Regions from separate parts of the Homo sapiens genome. Here all the other regions are linked to region 2. The links are contacts of gene promoters, found by promoter capture Hi-C in blood cells and fetal thymus (Javierre and others, 2016). All regions are on one chromosome and are shown on one strand. Each heading gives the region's core, a stretch centred on a gene start or on the middle of the fragment in contact. The rest is flanking DNA. Distances are from core to core; before and after follow the strand shown.

Region 1 (2,700 bases), core at 15-2,514, 340 kb before region 2:
AGCAACTATTTCTGAACTTTTAAATGACTTATCTTCTTCTTAAAAAACCATCAGAAGACATGTGCTGTTCATGGCTGGGCAGGAAAAAAATGTATTTCAAAGGAGAAATAGTTAGACATGTGGTATGGGTGGGTTGAGGTGAGACAGGGTATCTTTCTAGCTTGAGTTTAAACTTGCATCCCAGAGGTCTATTGATAAGAGCAACGTATCTGTCAAAATCCGCACAACAAACAAAAAGGACTCTAGGTATTTTATGAAAGCAGTAATATACTGTCAGGAATTGGGTGCTCACAAAATCATTGCAGGATCTAGAGGAAAATGTTCTGACCTGAGTCTCCAGAAACGACATGCCAAAAACACAGAGCTGAACTCCTAGGCCAGCCACAGCTTTCAAGGCTGCCTCTGGAGCTCTGATCGTGCTACACCTCTGATCATGCTACACATTTGCTTAGCTGCTGCAGGTGCTCCTGGACCTCCAGAAGGCAGGAGATTACCAGTGCAGAGCAACTGTAATTCATGCAGTCTTCCTTGCCAGCACAATCAGCCAAAGCTGGCAGGAAGATGGGTCTTGCCTCACTTCTTTTTTTTTTTTTTCTGAGATGGAGGGAGTCTCGCTCTGTTGCCCAGGCTGGAGTGCAGCGGCATGATCTCGGCTCACTGCAAGTTCCACCTCCCGGATTCGCCCCATTCTCCTGCCTCAGCCTCCTGAGTAGCTGGGACTACAGGCACCGGCCACCACGCCCAGCTAATTTTTTGTATTTTTAGTAGAGACGGGGTTTCACTGTGTTAGCCAGGATGGTCTCGATATGCTGACCTCATGATCCACCCGCCTCGGCCTCCCAAAGTGCTGGGATTACAGGCGTGAGCCACCGGGGTCTTGCCTCACTTCTGCCATCAAATTCGTGTGTCTGGCTGGTGAGTCTTGCCTGGAATCTAGAACCTTAGATAAAGGAGCCTTGGGAAATGGAGTTTGAGCTTTTCCAACTTCTCCTTTTAGGGGAATGGAATGGAGATCAAGGGAGTCAATGAACAGCAGCAACCACCAGTGGCCAAGAAAGATCTTACGCAAGCATTCACCCCATTCCCAGAAAGGAGGAGTTTAATGATGCTGGGCTACAAGCAGGGAAGGAATCATTCTGAGAACAATAAATGTCTATCACTCAGGTGATTCTCTTACCCCAGTTACTTTGTGTCAGGGTCCTTGAGAGAGAAAAATACTATCCTAGTGTAACTGAGACTCATTACGTAAAACCCCTAGTCACTAAGCAAACAAAGCAACGGTGCTGTGAGTCTCAATAATGGTGTGTAGATTCATGGGGGAGAGAATCTTCCTCCTAAGAAAACTCAGCAGACAGAGCAGACCAGGAAGACCATTGAAAAGTGGCAGCACGAGCAATACTCCTGTTGTCCACAGGATGGATCTGATACAGCAGACCAGCTAAGCAGAGAAGCACCATCCCTGGGAGATGGCACCAGTGCCAGCAGCAACTCCATTTAGGAGGGAACTTCCCAGTTTTCAGTCTCCGGGGCCAGAGAACCAGTGAAGAGGAAACCACGAGCTTCACAAGGCAGCTGAGAGAACCTTACATGAGGGAACCTCTGCAGAGGTTCACAAGTAATTGGGGTATAGTTGAGGAGGGGGTGCTGAACAGCCAGGTGTGATGGTGGCCAATTAGGACAACAAGCCAAACTGACAGTGACAATCAAGGCTTTGTTCACTTACTGCAGCAGTGCAGGCAAAAGGCAAAAAGGGCCCCACAGAAGAGCTCTGGGCAAGCATCAGGAGGATCTGTGCCAACTGGGGAAAATCATCTCACTAAGGAGTCCTGAACAAAAGGCTCCTGCCTTTTTATGAAAGCACAGGTGGGAAGGAAGGAGGTCAGGAAGAAATAGGAGTGGAGAAAAGTGCCTGAGTCAAGCCCTCCCCTCCCATAAGGAGGTCTCTGAATGGAGGTGCCTGGGCTAGACTTGCAGATATGCAAATGAGCATGGTAGACCCAAGGGCCATGAGTCTTTCACTGCAACCGCCTTCAGAAAACTGCATTGCACTGGCTGTGCTCCAGGTCTGGGAAGGAAGGGCAGCTTCCCCCATGAGGCCTGCCAGCAAAGCCTTTGTAAATGTCTATAGTCAGACATGAAAGATCATACAGATGAGGCCAGGCGCGGTGGCTCACACCTGTAATCCCAGCACTTTGGGAGGCCGAGGCGGGCAGATCACAAGGTCAGGAGATCGAGACCATCCTCACTAACACAGTGAAACCCCGTCTCTACTAAAAACAAAAAAAAAAATAGCTGGGCGTGGTGGTGGGCGCCTGTAGTCCCAGCTACTCAGGAAGCTGAGGCAGGAGAATGGCATGAACCCAGGAGGCAGAGCCTGCAGTGAGCAGAGATGGAGCCACTGCACTCCAGCCTGGGCAACAGAGCAAGACTCCATCTCAAAAAAAAAGAGAGCATACAGATGATTTTGGCCTGGAGCTGGACTCCTCAAGGGGAGGCAAAAAGTACTGCTATGATCTGAATGTTTGTGTCCCTCCAAAATTCATGTTGAAACTTAATCCCCCATGCAATAGTGTTAAGAAGTAGGGCTTTTAAGAGGTGATTAGGTCATGGAGGCTCTCACCTAATGCCCATTATGAAAGAGATTGAAGGAGCCTATTTGACACTTTTTTGCCCTCTTTCATGTGAGGAGACAGCAACAAG
Region 2 (2,954 bases), core at 10-2,509:
CTGTACAGAGCTGACCAATGACTCATGAAATCTTCTGTGCGATCTCTCTCCTCAGTTTCAAACGATTCATTTATAATTGCACTAGGAAAATAGCCAACAGCTTGTCACATTCTTTACACTGTCTTGGCCCAGCTCTAAACAGATAGGTTTTGAAATTTTAACTTAAAATTTTAATCTTTATTTTAAAACATGTATATACATTGTGGTAAAATATCACTTAGGAAAAAGAAAAGTTATTGTAGATATATAAATTTCTTTCTTTTAAAATACCTTTTGATTATATAATAAAAATTCCCCAAATAAAGTCTGAAGTTAGAGTTTGTAATTAAAAACCTCCAAAGAGTAAAAGTAACTCTTTTTCTCTTCTCTCTTCATCTCCCCCCCAAAAAATAAGCCTTCACAGAAGATGATTTTGGCATTGGTTATGATGTTTTATTGGCATTTGGGGCTTTTAATCTTTGTCTTTAAACATAATAGTAGTGATAATGCTACAGTGCTTTTCTTTTCCTGTTTTGAGCTTCTAAATCCAGCTAAGTTATTTTCACTTACTGTTACAAGACAGAGAAGAGGCCGGGCTCTGTGGCTCACGCCTGTTATCTAGCACTTTGGGAGGCCGAGGGGGGCAGATTGCCTGAGCTCAGGAGTTAGACTAGCCTGCACAACGCGGTGAAACCCCGTCTCTACTAAAAATACAAAAAATTAGCCTGGCTTGGTGCTGTGTGCCTGTAGTCCCAGCTGCTCGGGAGGCTGAAGCAGGAGAATTGCTTGAACCCGGGAGGCGGAGGTTGCAGTGAGCCCAGATCGCGCCACTGCACCCCAGCCTGGGCGACAGAGCGAGACTCCGGCTCCAAAAAATAATAATAATAATAATAAGAGAGAGGAGAAAAAACTTATTTTTCTGTAGATAATATATTGAAATGCAGATGTAGTATAGACAGTTCTAAACCAGACAATGACATTTTAAAAATAAATTTAGCCAGTCGTTTACAGAAAAACAATGACATACTGATATTAGAATAGGTGTCTCCTATTAGTTGACAATGAGTGATACATAATTTAAAACTAAGGATGACAACAGTTTCACTATTAACTCTTATTATTGTAGAAACCTGGTAAAATTGAATTCCACACTAGATGGTATAGTTTAAGACTTAACGCCTCACATTCTGACCTCATTAAATAGAAATCTGTTTAATCTCTGCAAGGAAATATTTTGTCCAGGAACGCCTACGTTTGTGGCAGGTGGAGACAGCTTATTAGGCAGCCTGCTCTCCTCTTATGATGGCCTTGGTCCGGGATCGCAGGGCTCATTATGTCATGAGCATAGTTATTAGATGGGTTCACTGCTTTTCCTCCTCCTTGAGGGGGACCTTTGGCACACGCTGGGAGGCCATGAAAGCCAAGGCCACCGAGCTGCGGGTCTGCTGCGCGCGTAGGAAGCGAGAAGCTCGGGAATTCAAGCCCCCGCAAATGCGCGGGTCCACGAGGTAGGCTGAGCTCCGCGCCTGGGTAGAGGAGGAAGCGAGCAGGGTCCAGGGGCACGGCGGGAGGCTGAAGGGTTATTTACGGGGGTGCAGCTTTCCTCTGGGGTATCGCAGCAGCCTCCAGGCTGTGGGAGTCTTGTGGGGAAGCCTTGAGGCAGGCGGGACAGTGAAAGCGCAGCGGGGTGGCTTGGGAGCCCGCCCCGCCTCCTCCTCCCCCTCTCCACTCCCCTCCTCCCGCGCGTGCTCCCTCCCCATCCTCCTTTCCATCTCTTCCCCCTTCCCCCACTCCTTCCCCCTCTTCCTTCCCTCCACACCTCCTCTACTTCCTTTCCCTCTCCCCTTCCCCCCCATCCCCAACCTTCTCCCTATCCCCCTCCTCCCCATCTCCTTCCCCCTTCCCCTCCCCACCCCGTTCCCCACCCCCCTCCACTCGCGGCCCTCCCCGGCCCCCGCCCACGGATTCCCGCGCTTCGCCGGTTACCTGGGAGTCGCCATGGCAACGGACGCCGGGTTCCCGACTCCGACTCAGGAGAGCGAGCGGCTCCGCGGGAGGCGCACGTCCGGGGCTGCAATGGCGAACTGGGGCGACTCGCCTGAGACAGAGGAGGGCCGGAAGATCATGGAGGGCCTCGAGGCCTCTATTGAACAATTCCAGTTCAACCCCAGGTGACCAGCGGGAGAGGCAGTCCCCGCCGGCCCGCCCCGGAGCCCTCGCGCCCCGGCCCTCGCTCAACGCCTTTCCAGGCCCCTTGCTCCAGCCGCTGGGCTTCAGTTTTTTGTTTGTTTTTCGAGGGGATCACTGTCCGAAAAGAGCTGCAGTTTTCACTTCTTCAAGTGTATAGCTGGACACTAAGAGCACGGACTCTGGAGCCAGACTGCCCGGATTCCAGAATCTTGGCGACCCTCTCACAGGGGCCGTGAGTTAGGCGACTGACTGCTCTGTGCCTCAGTTTTCTCAGCGGGAAATAATCGTTCATGAATGATGAAGAGTAGTGCCTGCTTCATAGATCATAGTGAATATTAAATGAGCTAATCTAGGACACAGTACCCGTCTTAGTCCCCTCGGGCTGCTGTAACAAAACAACATAGGCTGGGTGGCTTATAAGCAACAGGAATTTGTTTCTCCCAGTTCTGGAGGCTGGGAAGCCCACTGGCAGATTCCAGGTCTGATGAGGGTCCCTTCTGCACAGACAGTACCTCCTGGCTGTGTCTCCACATGGTGCAACGGGCAAGGGAGTTTTCCCCCACGTCCCCCACACCCGCTCCCACCCTGCTTTTAGAAGGGCACTAATCCCATTTATAGGGCTCCACTTTCATGACCTAGTCACCTCCAAAGTCCACACCTGCTAATATCGTCATCTTGGGGGTTAGGATTTCAACATGAATTTTCAGGAGACACACTCAGACCATAGCAGAATCATAGAAGTGTTTGCCGATGTCATTATTTGCTATTCCTTGATCCTTGTTTAA
Region 3 (2,718 bases), core at 53-2,552, 390 kb before region 2:
CACCACTGATATGGACCAAGCAACTGACACTGTACTTCCTTTTTCACCGGATAAGAGACCACTGACCATGAAGCGCTCCTGGTCAGTCCACAGAGAATGGGTAGTACAGGTATTTGTGTCCTCTGGTTCACCTTTTGACATCAGAGGACTCAAAAGTCCACCTTCAGATTATGCTAACACCACTGTTTTTTGTACAGGGGACCCAGGAATGGGCATAAAGCTCAACTGTGCATGTGCATATTTCTTTTATAAACATTCATGAACTTTCCTATGGCTTATTGAGTATGTATATTTAGCCACCTCATTCAGCGTAAATTTCTGTTCCACCTTCCCCTCCCTCAAAGTATCTATTTCTGGCTTCTGGCCAGAGGCTATGATTCCTGGCCTGTCAGGATGGCCATCCTGCAGACTGCAAACCCTTCTGAAAAAAAAGCTCTCCTTCCCAAATTAAAGCATAAAATAAAGTGAAATAAAAGACATGTTCCCTCTTATCACCCCTTTTCAACATTGAACTGGAAGTGCTAGCTGATGCAATCAGACAAGAAAATGAATTAAAAGGTAGACAGATTGGAAAGAAAAAATAAAACTGTCTTTGTTTGCAGATGATATGTTAGTCTATGAAGAAAATCTGAAAGAACTGAACAAAAAGCCTTCTGAAACTAACAAGCAATTATAGCAAGGTTTCAGAATACAAGATTAATATACAAAAGTCCATTGCTTTCCTATATACCAGCAATAAACAAGAAAGAATTTGAGATTAAAACACATTATCATTTATATTAGCATCTCCTCAAAAATAAAATACTTAGGTATAAATTGAACAAAATATATACAAGATCTATGTAAGAAAAACTACAAAATTATGATGAATAAAATAAAGACACTACAAAATGGAAAAATATTCCATGTTCATGGATAGGAAGACTCAATATTGTCAAGACATTGGTTCTTCCCAACTAGATCTATAAATTAAATGCCATCAAAATAAAAATCCTAGCAAATTATTTTGTAGATATGAACAAACTGATTCTGAAGTTTATATGGAAAGGCAAAATACTCAGAAAGAAAATAACGTTGAAGAACTGACACTACTCAACTTCAATGCTTACTGGAATGTTACAGTAATCAAGGCAGTACGGTATTCGCCAAACAGTAGACAAATAGATTAATAAAACAGACTAGCATCACCTGATATTTGACAAATAAGAAAAGGAAATATAATAAAGAAAAGACTATTTTCAACAAATGGTGCTGAAACAACTGAACATCCACATGCAAGAAAAAAAAAGAATCTAGACACAGATGTAAAAAGCAGAACTTTAAAATTCATAGAAGCCGGGCATGGTGGCTCACGCCTGTAATCCCAGCACTTTGGGAGGCCGAGGCGGGCAGATCACGAGGTCAGGAGATTGAGACCAACCTGGCTAACACAGTGAAACCCCGTCTCTACTAAAAATACAAAAAGTTAGCCAGGCATGGTGGTGGGCGCCTGTTGTCCCACCTACTTGGGAGACTGAGGCAGGACAATGGTGTGAACCTGGGAGGCGGAGCTTGCAGTGAACAGAGATCGTGCCACTGCACTCCAGCCTGGGTGACAGAGTGAGACTATGTCAAAAAAAAAAAAAATTTCATAGAAAATAACAGAAGAAAATGTAGATGACTTTGGGCTTTGGGTTTGACAATTACTTTTTGGATACAATGCCAAAGGAATGATCCATGAAAGAAAGAATAAACTGGATTTCATTAAAATTAAAACTTTCTCTTCTTTGAAAGACACTGTCAAGAAATTTAGAAGACAAGCCACTGACTGAAATAAAATATTTGCAAAAGACATATCTGATAAGGCAGCTTATCCAAAATATATAAAAACTCTTAAAACTCCACAATAAGAAAGCAAATAAGCCAATTAAAAAATGGACCAAAGACCTTAACAGACACCCTACTAAAGAAGTAATATAGATATATGAAAAGAATTTCTATATGATATGTCCTCAGATAAATGCAAATTAAAACAAAAATGAGATACTAGTACATACCTATTAAAATAGTCAAAATATAGAACTCTGACACCACCAAATGCTAGCAAGGATGTGGAGTAACGGGAACTCTCATTCATTGTTGGTGGGAATGCAAAATGGTGTAGTCATTTTGGAAGACAGTTTGGCACTTTCTTATAAAACAAAACATATTCTAACTATATGATCCAGCAATCATGCCCCTTAGTATTTACCAAATGGAAATGAAAACTTATGTTCACACAAAAACCTCTACCCAGATGTTTATAGCAGCTTTATTCATAATTGCCAAGCCTTGGAAACAACCAGATGTCCTTCAGTAGGTGGATGAGTAAGTAAACTATGGTACATCCAGACAATGCAATATTATTCACCACTAAAAAGAAATGAGCTATGAAGCCATGAAAAGACATGGAGAAACCTTAACTGCATGTGAGCAGATAAAAGAAGACAATCTGAAGAGGCTATGTACTGTTGGATTCAAACTGTATGACATTCTGAAAAAAAGGCAAAACTATGGAGACAGTAAAAAGGTCAGTCGGGTTGGGAGTGGGGGAAGGGGTGAATAGATGCAGCACGGAGGATATTCTAGGGCAGCGAAGCTGTTCTGTGTGGTACCACAAATGGTGGATACATGTCATCATACATTTGTGTGGGATATTGATGACTGCAGAGGCTGTGCTTGTCTTAGGGCAGGGAGGAT
Region 4 (2,700 bases), core at 169-2,668, 290 kb before region 2:
TGGCTGATAATGACTAATTTTAGACTTTATTAAATATAGTATATTTCTAGAGTAACCATAATAAGTAGAACATTTTATTTCCACAGTAGTAATGCAAAGAAAGGCAAGAGAGAAAAAGGAAAAACCAAGAGTTCTTTTACAAATAGAAAACACAAAACAAGATGGCAGGTATACGCCCAAATATATCAAAAGTTATAATAAAAGTGGACTGCACTCTACACTTAGACACAGAGATTATTGGGCTAGATTAACAAAAATCCAGTGATATTATGTGTGTAAGAACATTATAAAAAGGAGTCACTAAAATTTTTTAAAAGGGAAATTGTATACCAGGCAAATAACTAAAGAAAAACTGGTATTCATTTCTTTCTTTCTCCTTCCCTTTCCTTCCTCTCTTCTTCTATTTCTTCCTTGTCTTTAAGGAAGTTGCCCCACTGAGGTTGGAGGGGGGAAAATCAAATGTGGTAAAATCCTGACAATTTGGGGATCTGGGTGAAGGAGACATTAGAGCATTTGTATTCCTTATAAAACTTTTTTGTAAGCTTGAAATTATACTACTCTAAAATAGAGCTGGGGGGGAAGTGGATATAATTACTACATTCATATAAAAAGGAAAAAAGTGTTTAATGTAGAAAACATTACTAGAGTTTTATAAAGTCCCTTACTAAATATGGGGAAGAAATGATTAAATTCAGCATAACAGAACCCCAAAATAAAGAGAAAATTGACAGAACTCTAAGTATAAATTGACAGATCCACCCTTGTAGTGACACATTTTAAATCTCTGTCTGTCATTTATGGATCTGGCAAAGAAAAAACCCAGAAATGATAAAATATTAAAGCAATACAATTAACAAGCTTGATTTAATGAACAAAGTGTTGCCAGCACTAATTGGATAATACATGTTAATTTCAAGCAAAGAAAAAAACATTAATTAATAAGCACCAATCACATACTGGGACATAAATTTTCAACACATTTCAGAGAATACATATCACACAGACCACATTCTCTGACCAAAATGTAATTTAGAATAAATAGCAAAAAGATAGCAAAACTAGAAATTAGAAAAATCCCAATTCAACACAACTCATAACTCAAATAAGCATACTAAAATGTGTAAATATTTAGAACTGAATGATAATAGGCTGGGTGTGGTGGCTCATGCCTGTAATCCCAGCACTTTGGGATGTCAAGGTGGGCAGATCACTTGAGGTCAGGAGTTTGAGACCAGCCTGGCCAACATGGTGAAACCCCATCTCTACTAAAAATACAAAAATTAGCCAAGTGTGGTGGTGCGCACCTGTAGTCCCAGCTACTCAGGAGGCTGAGGCAGGAGAATCACTTGAACCCTAGAGGCAGGGGTTGCAGTGAGGTGAGATGGTGCCACTGCACTCCAGCCTGGGTGAAAGAAAGTGACTGTGTTGGAGAGGAGAGAGGAGAGGAGAGGGGAGGAGAAGGGAGGGGAGAGGAGGGGATGATAATACCCTAATGATCCCTGTCATTTAGTTGAGGAAGTCATAGAACAACCCCAACCTACCACTACTTCTTTCATTTTATTTCCATAGTTTTTGAGGTACAGGTGGTTTTTGGTTACATGGATAAATTATTTAGTGGTGATTTCTGACATTTTGGTTCACCCATCACTTGAGCAGTGTACACTGTACCCAGTATCAAGCCTACCATTACTTCTACTTATTAAATTTCCACTTATTTGTCAATTTTTTGAATTTTCCTCTGATTTCAATTTCTTCTGTTATTGATTTCTGATTTCATTTCCTCAAAGTCAGAGAACATACTTCGTACGATTTTATGCCTTTCAAGTTTACTGAGGTATGTCTTATGTCCTGACGTATTGTTTATCCTGGAGAATGTTCCATCTGCATTTGAAAAGAATGTATATTTTGATGATTTGGGGTGGAGTATTCTATAGATGTCTGCCATATCTACTTGGCTTACAGTGTTGTTCAAGCTTCTATTTCCTTCTTAACCCACTGCCGTGTTGTTCTGTTCATTATTAAAAGTGGGGTCCCCAACTGTTATTTTTATATTATGTTTCTCCCTTCAATGCTCTCAGTTTTTGTTTAATGCATCTTGTGCGCTGTTGTTAGATACATGTATGTTTTCAATTCTTGTATCTTCCTGATGAATTGACTCCTTTATGCATTATAAACTGTCCATCTTTGTCTCTAGCAACAATTTGTCTATGTTAGTAGAGCTACTGTAGCTCTCTTTGGGTTACTGTTTGCATAGCATAGCTTTTTTCCTCCTTTTACCTTTAAACTATTTGTTTCTTTTAATATAAGTCATTTTTCCTTGTAGACAGCATATCCTTGGATTATATGTTTTAAATCCATTCTGCCAATATCTGCCTTTTGATTGAAGTGTTTCATTTATTGTCAGTGTAATTATTGATAATGTAGAATTTGTCTGCTCTTTTGCCTTTTTACTCTACATTTTTAATATATTTTTTCTTCTTTTGTACCTCCATTACTGTCTTCTTTTGTTTTACATTTACATTTTCTAGTATGACATTTTAATTGCTTGTTGTTTATTTTACTATATGTTTTCAGTTATTTTCTTAGTGATTACTCTGGGGATTATAATTAACATATTATCTTAAAATAATCTAGTTCTTGGACAAAAGGGAACTCTTACACACTATTGGTGGGAATATAAATTAGTACAGTCATTAGGGA
Region 5 (2,862 bases), core at 162-2,661, 270 kb before region 2:
TCAGCTGTTTATGTGTCCAATACCATTCAACAAGGCGATGTTTGCTCTAGGCACAATTCTTGGCCTTTGTGACAAACACAAAGCAAATTAATCATGTTTTCTGGGCTGAAGGAGCTTGTACTCTAGCAAGGAAGATAAAACATTCATGTAAATAATTGTAACACAAGGTCAATTGCACTATAGGCTGCAAACACGGCATGAATGAAACACGGAAGAGTGTTGGAAAAGTCGTGCTCACTTCTGGTGAGGGGCATCCGGAGAGTTACAGGTAGTAAAGGATAGGTTTGATTTAGGTAGCCAAAAAGGGTGGAGAGAGGAAGTGGGAAGAAGAGGGGAACAGAAAAGAGTGGGGATGTAGTTGGGGACTTAGAAGAATCACACCTGGCAAGACTGGGAATGGAAAAACGTGGAGTCCAGTTAGGGAAAAGCAAGTGATAGGCTACAGATCACTCTAAGGGAATCAGAGACAAGTGAAGGAGTAAGTAATACAGAGAGATGGGCTGGTTGGTTAAAAGGCTCTGATTAAAACTGAGCTTCTCTTGCCTGATATCTATTTTCTTCTTCCAGATTTGTTTGTCCCCACGCCACTGTAGTGCACTCATAAGCTGCTGGTTTTGTTTGTCTGTTTACCTGACTCTCTTGGTTCTGGAGCAGGTCCCTGAGGGCAGGGCTGATGTCATTTTCCTCTTTGTAGTCACAAAACCCAACATAGAGCTTGGCACAGGAATGACTGTAGAATGAATGAATGCCATGCTTTTCGAACCAACCTCTGTATAATAGTTGTCTGTTCAAGATTTTGCCACTGGCGATGATGTCTAAGTGGTTAACAAAGGAGTAAAATAGGATGGCAACTCAGCAGTCAACTGGACAGCAGACCCACCTGGGTCAGAGTCTACCTCAGCTCCTTCCTCAATCTGAGCACTGTATGCAGGTGCTTACCTGACCAACATGCATTACCCTTCTTTGTAAAATAACCATAATAGTAGACACACCCTTTGGTATGCACAGGGGATTGGTTCCAGTAACCCCAAAGACTCCACAATCTGTGGATGCTCAAGCCTCTGATATAAAATGGCTTTGTTTTTGCATATAACCTGTGCTCATCCTCCTGTATAATTTAAATCATCTCTAGATTGCTTATAATACCTAATCCAATGTAAATGCTATGTAAATAGTTGTTAAATTGTATTGTTTAGGGAATAGTGATGAGGGGGAAAAAGTCTGTACTTGTTCAATACAGATGCAACCATCCTTTTTTTCTTCTATCAAATATTTTTGATTAGCAGCTGGTTGAACCCACTAATGCAGAACCCAAGGAGGGTTGACTGTCTTTAGCTGTGAGGGTTGATGTGAGAATTAAATGAGCTAATGTATGCTGGACCCTTAGCACATTACCTGGGACGTAGTAAGTACTTCATTTGTATAAGTTCTGCTATTATTTAACATTAAATACAGGTTGTCAATGACACCTGGGAGGCTGCTCAAGATCTTAGCATGACACTGGCTTTATATTCAAAGCACAGGGGCTGGATAATAAATCTCTGCTTTGGGCTGGGTGAGGTGTCTCACACCTGTAATCCCAGCACTTTGGGAGGCCAAGGCGGGCGGATCACTTGAGGTCAGGAGTTTGAGACCAGCCTGACCAACATGATGAAACCCCATCTCTATTAAAAATACAAAAACTACCCAGGTGTGGTGGTTTAGCCTGTAATCCCAGCTACTCAGGAGGCTGAGGCAGGAGAATCGCTTGAACCCGGGAGGCAGAGGTTGCAGTGAGCCGAGATCGCACCACTGCACTCCAGTCTGGGTGACAGCCTAAGACCGCATCTCAAAAAATAAAAAATAAAAGTCAATTATCTGCTTTATTTTGGAATCTAAAATCATGCCAACAGGATTCTCTTTCTGGTGGGTGTATTTTTTAAAATATTTTTGTTTGGACATAACAGACATACAGGAGAATGCAAAACATTCAAATATGCAGTGCCATGAATGATTATATATAACAAATGTGCTTAAAATATTGTCTTTCTAGTGGAAATCCTCTCACTCTACAGGAAACTGCCACCCTGATTCTTACAGTGGTCCTATTCTAGTTCTACATTTTCTTTATAGTTTTATCACCTTTAAGGTATGATTTCTCCTGGTTTTTTATTTTATATCAGTGAGAAATATAGTGTACCCATTATTTTGTGCCTTGCTTTTTTTGATCCATATTGTGGTTATAAGATTCTTCCCAAAAAAACCTCTGGTTCATCTTTTTATTTTTAGAATTTCAGTGTGCTAATATATGTACAATGTATTCATTCACTTAATATTTTTTCTTTTCACATTTAGGTTTATAACCCACTTGCAGGAAGAGGTTGAGTTTTATCCTTTTCTTGGTTTGCTCAAGCCAGTTCTCAGGCTATTTTTGGGAGAACTCACCGATATTGAGTACAAGGACATATGAAAACATGCCTCTCATATAGAAGATTTTATGAACAAAAATTATTGTTTCCTAGTCATCATTCTGGTTTTTGTTTGTATATATATATATTCATTCTGGTTTTGTGTATATATATATATTCTGGTTTTGTATATACATATATTCTGGTTTTGTATATATATATATATGATATTTATGTTTATATATGTATAATATTTATATGTTTTTATATAGAGAGTATGTGTGTTAAGAATCCAACTGACCAAGAACACAAAGAAGCAGAATAACAGTACAGTTGACCCAAGATTCTTCATGTCTGACACCAGACTTCAAAATGCTGCTGTTTAAATGTGCCAATCTCCCTATCTCTTGAATTCCTCAGAAAATGCATGTTGCATTGTAGTTGATTTTGAAGAGAGATATCTGTGCAAGGTGAG
Region 6 (2,756 bases), core at 213-2,712, 370 kb before region 2:
GGAGAGATGCTTATGTTCCTCTTTCTACCTTCCACCCTCAAACTGCAGAGAAGCAAACTTCTACCATAATTTTCTCTTCACCTCTGTGCCAGGTATTTTGATACCCTGTACAGTTTGGCCCTTGACTTTTAGAGGGGTGAAGCCTAGAAACTACATTTCTTCCTTGCCTGTGGGGTCACTAGAAGAGTCCACCATTGAGAATGTCTCACATGAGATTTGGAAGGTGAAGGTCATTCTCTGACAATGTCTGCAGACAGGCAACAGAAGTGGAGTCTGGACTATAGACTTTGGCATCCTCCTGTGACTCACTTAGGGAGCATGTTTCTCTGCGATTCCCACATTTTAGATTTCCTGAAAGTGATCATATCAGGCTTCGTTTCCCATCCTTCAAGGGTTGTGTGAGCCTCTAATTCCTGGAGTTAAACTTCTCTCCACTAAGACACCTTAATTAGCTTCTGTTTCTCTCACTCGTCTTCCCCAGGAGAGGAAGGTGGTTGATTTCATCTGTTGAAGCTTGACATGAACTGGACCATGCTTTCCTGGTGAACAGGGTTACTTTGTCCTTCACTTTCTGTGATGACACCCAGAAGGTTCTCCTTTGTATCTTGTTCCCTTGTAATAAGCACATCTGTGCAGGTCCCCAAACCTTCTACAGTAATTTCCTATTGCTGCTGTAAGAAATCACACACTTACTAGCTCAAAAGAACACAAATTTACTACATTAGAGTTCTATAGGTCAGAAATCTCAATGGACCAAAACCACGCTGTCTGCCAAGAGACTCTAGTTTCTTGCCTGTTCTGTCTCCTGGAGGCTGCTCAAATTCCTTGGCCTGTGGATCACTTTGACCTCTGCTTACATCATCACATCTTCTGTGACCCTCTTGCCTCCCTCTTGTAAGGACCCTTGTGATTATATTGGCTCACCTAGATAATCAAAGGCATTGATCAACCCCATCTCAAGATTCTTAATAGAATCCCATCTGCAAAGTCTCTTTTGCTTTCGGAGGTAAAATAGCCACAGCTTTTAGGAATTAGAATGTGGACATCTTCTGGGGTTAAGGGAACATCATTCCACCTATAATGTCTTCTTTCTGGAACCAACCTGCCAGCCTCATCCATATTCAAGCACACGGTATTGGGGATGGCCCAGAAGATCTGGTGCCTCACTCCTTCTGTATGCACATCTGAGCTTGTGGTGCTCACATCTAGATAAAGAGTAAGAGTCAATAGTCTCACTTTTGATGAAGCCTAAAGCAAATATTTTAATATAGATTTTACAAGGATGTGCACAGAGGACTCTACAAAGCAAAATCACTCTTTTCATTTTCTATCTGGCTAGCAATCTTGCTTCATTGGTTTGCTTTATTGATCAGACCCTAGAGAATAAGAAGGATAGATGGTGACCCGGTTCCCTATACTCATTGTACCCATTCCATAGGTATTTGATGAGCTACCTGGAGATTATTTTGTAATGGCATTTGTTTCTGATGTATCTATTCTGCAATTCAGATTTTGATAAAACAAATTTTTCAAAATCAAGGCACAGCTATATAAATCTTTATTTGAGTAAAAGTTCAACACAACTTGAACTGTCTCCAAAATATAATGAATTTTCCAAAAATACTTTCAACACTTGACACCAAATAGAACACCCACTATGTTTCAACTTTGTATCAGCATAGAACAAAATGCTTTGTAAATTGCTTATCAATAAGGCTACTCTGTTTCTCAGATTGGATGAACAAGTATGCACTATATTCTTTCCATTGTTACAGTTTCTTGAGCCAATACAATCTTCATTATCTACAAAGTCATCTTCAAGACCTTCATAACTGAAGATTTAAATCAATATCAGATGCAGAAGTGTCCTTGGTGACAACAGAGCAACTGTGTTAAAGAGTATAATACCTGCCAGAATGGGAGCTTCTTCAACTGTTTAACTGAGAACAGCATTATTTGATTAGAACACACCAAAGGATTAATGGAAAATTTTAAACTATGTGATGGTAAAGCCAGAAATTACACTGGCCTGAATTGTAATGCAGCTCAGGGACTCCTCGGCCTAGAAAAAGTGCAGTCTGCATAAGGTAACAGAAGGCCCCGTCCCACACCTGCCACTCTATTTTCTCAGTTATTCTCTGAGTCATCCCTTCATTCATTCATGTTCTTTAGTCATTCATTCACTCACTTTGCATCCGTTATCCATCCAACACTGGAATATGAAAGTAAGTAACACACAGTTCCTACCTTCAATTTGCTCACTCTCAACCAGAGAAGAAAATCAGATAATTAACTCTTCACATAATAGGGAAAGTGCGACATAACAGAGTTGTGTTGAAAGCAAGAGAAAATCAGTAATGCTGCCCAGAGAGCTCCCAGCTAGTGACAACATGGCACAATGGCTAAGCTTTCAGACTGTGGGCCCCAACTGCCTGTGACCTTGGGTGAGTTACTTCATCTCTCTAGGCTTTGTATCTCCGAGTTAAACAGAAAAAATGATAACAGTTTAGGTGTAATAAGGACCATACAGGCATAGTAAAAAGGGTTAGATGAGCATAATTAATGCCATATAATTGTGTATAAACACAAGTCTTCATAGTTTCATAGTAAAGCTTAATATCTGAGGAAGGCTTTGAAGAATAGGTAACCATTTTTCCATTAGGAAAGAAGGAGGGGCATTCGGATGAAAGGAAGTTTCTATTTCTTTATTTTTTTTTTTTCTTTTTTGGAGACAGGGTATTGCTTTGTCACTCATG

The links. Contacts are between HindIII fragments. The CHiCAGO score rates a contact against its expected background, and 5 or more counts as called.
Region 1: a contact is called between a fragment that was not itself captured here and the fragment with the promoter of C10orf67 in region 2, in 2 of 17 cell types (monocytes and M1 macrophages). The highest score is 7.8, in monocytes.
Region 3: a contact is called between a fragment that was not itself captured here and the fragment with the promoter of C10orf67 in region 2, in 1 of 17 cell types (monocytes). The highest score is 5.0, in monocytes.
Region 4: a fragment that was not itself captured here is called in contact with the fragment with the promoter of C10orf67 in region 2 in 3 of 17 cell types (monocytes, M1 macrophages and M0 macrophages); the score reaches 9.0 in monocytes.
Region 5: a contact is called between a fragment that was not itself captured here and the fragment with the promoter of C10orf67 in region 2, in 1 of 17 cell types (monocytes). The highest score is 5.7, in monocytes.
Region 6: a contact is called between a fragment that was not itself captured here and the fragment with the promoter of C10orf67 in region 2, in 2 of 17 cell types (monocytes and M0 macrophages). The highest score is 9.0, in monocytes.

Annotation. Positions count from the first base shown.
Region 1 is chr10:23,685,636-23,688,335 of GRCh38, reverse strand. No RefSeq gene overlaps it. Among named protein-coding and RNA genes, the nearest start is that of OTUD1, 250 kb to the right of the region's middle. The HindIII fragment of the contact is 4,451 bases long and covers 1-2,700 here.
Region 2 is chr10:23,343,102-23,346,055 of GRCh38, reverse strand. C10orf67 (chromosome 10 open reading frame 67) reads left to right here and starts at 1,259. Exons shown (of 16, transcript NM_001371909.1): 1 at 1,259-1,487. The coding sequence starts at 1,282. It overlaps C10orf67-AS1 (C10orf67 antisense RNA 1), which reads right to left and starts at 2,099. Exons shown (of 2, transcript NR_155752.1): 1 at 1,966-2,099; 2 at 895-1,632. RefSeq lists a silencer at 1-136. The HindIII fragment of the contact is 9,174 bases long and covers 1-2,954 here.
Region 3 is chr10:23,728,816-23,731,533 of GRCh38, reverse strand. It overlaps a transcript of KIAA1217 not described here. Among named protein-coding and RNA genes, the nearest start is that of OTUD1, 290 kb to the right of the region's middle. The HindIII fragment of the contact is 2,922 bases long and covers 1-2,718 here.
Region 4 is chr10:23,633,964-23,636,663 of GRCh38, reverse strand. No RefSeq gene overlaps it. Among named protein-coding and RNA genes, the nearest start is that of OTUD1, 200 kb to the right of the region's middle. The HindIII fragment of the contact is 1,115 bases long and covers 861-1,975 here.
Region 5 is chr10:23,616,910-23,619,771 of GRCh38, reverse strand. No RefSeq gene overlaps it. Among named protein-coding and RNA genes, the nearest start is that of OTUD1, 180 kb to the right of the region's middle. The HindIII fragment of the contact is 6,427 bases long and covers 1-2,862 here.
Region 6 is chr10:23,709,501-23,712,256 of GRCh38, reverse strand. It overlaps a transcript of KIAA1217 not described here. Among named protein-coding and RNA genes, the nearest start is that of OTUD1, 270 kb to the right of the region's middle. The HindIII fragment of the contact is 1,894 bases long and covers 516-2,409 here.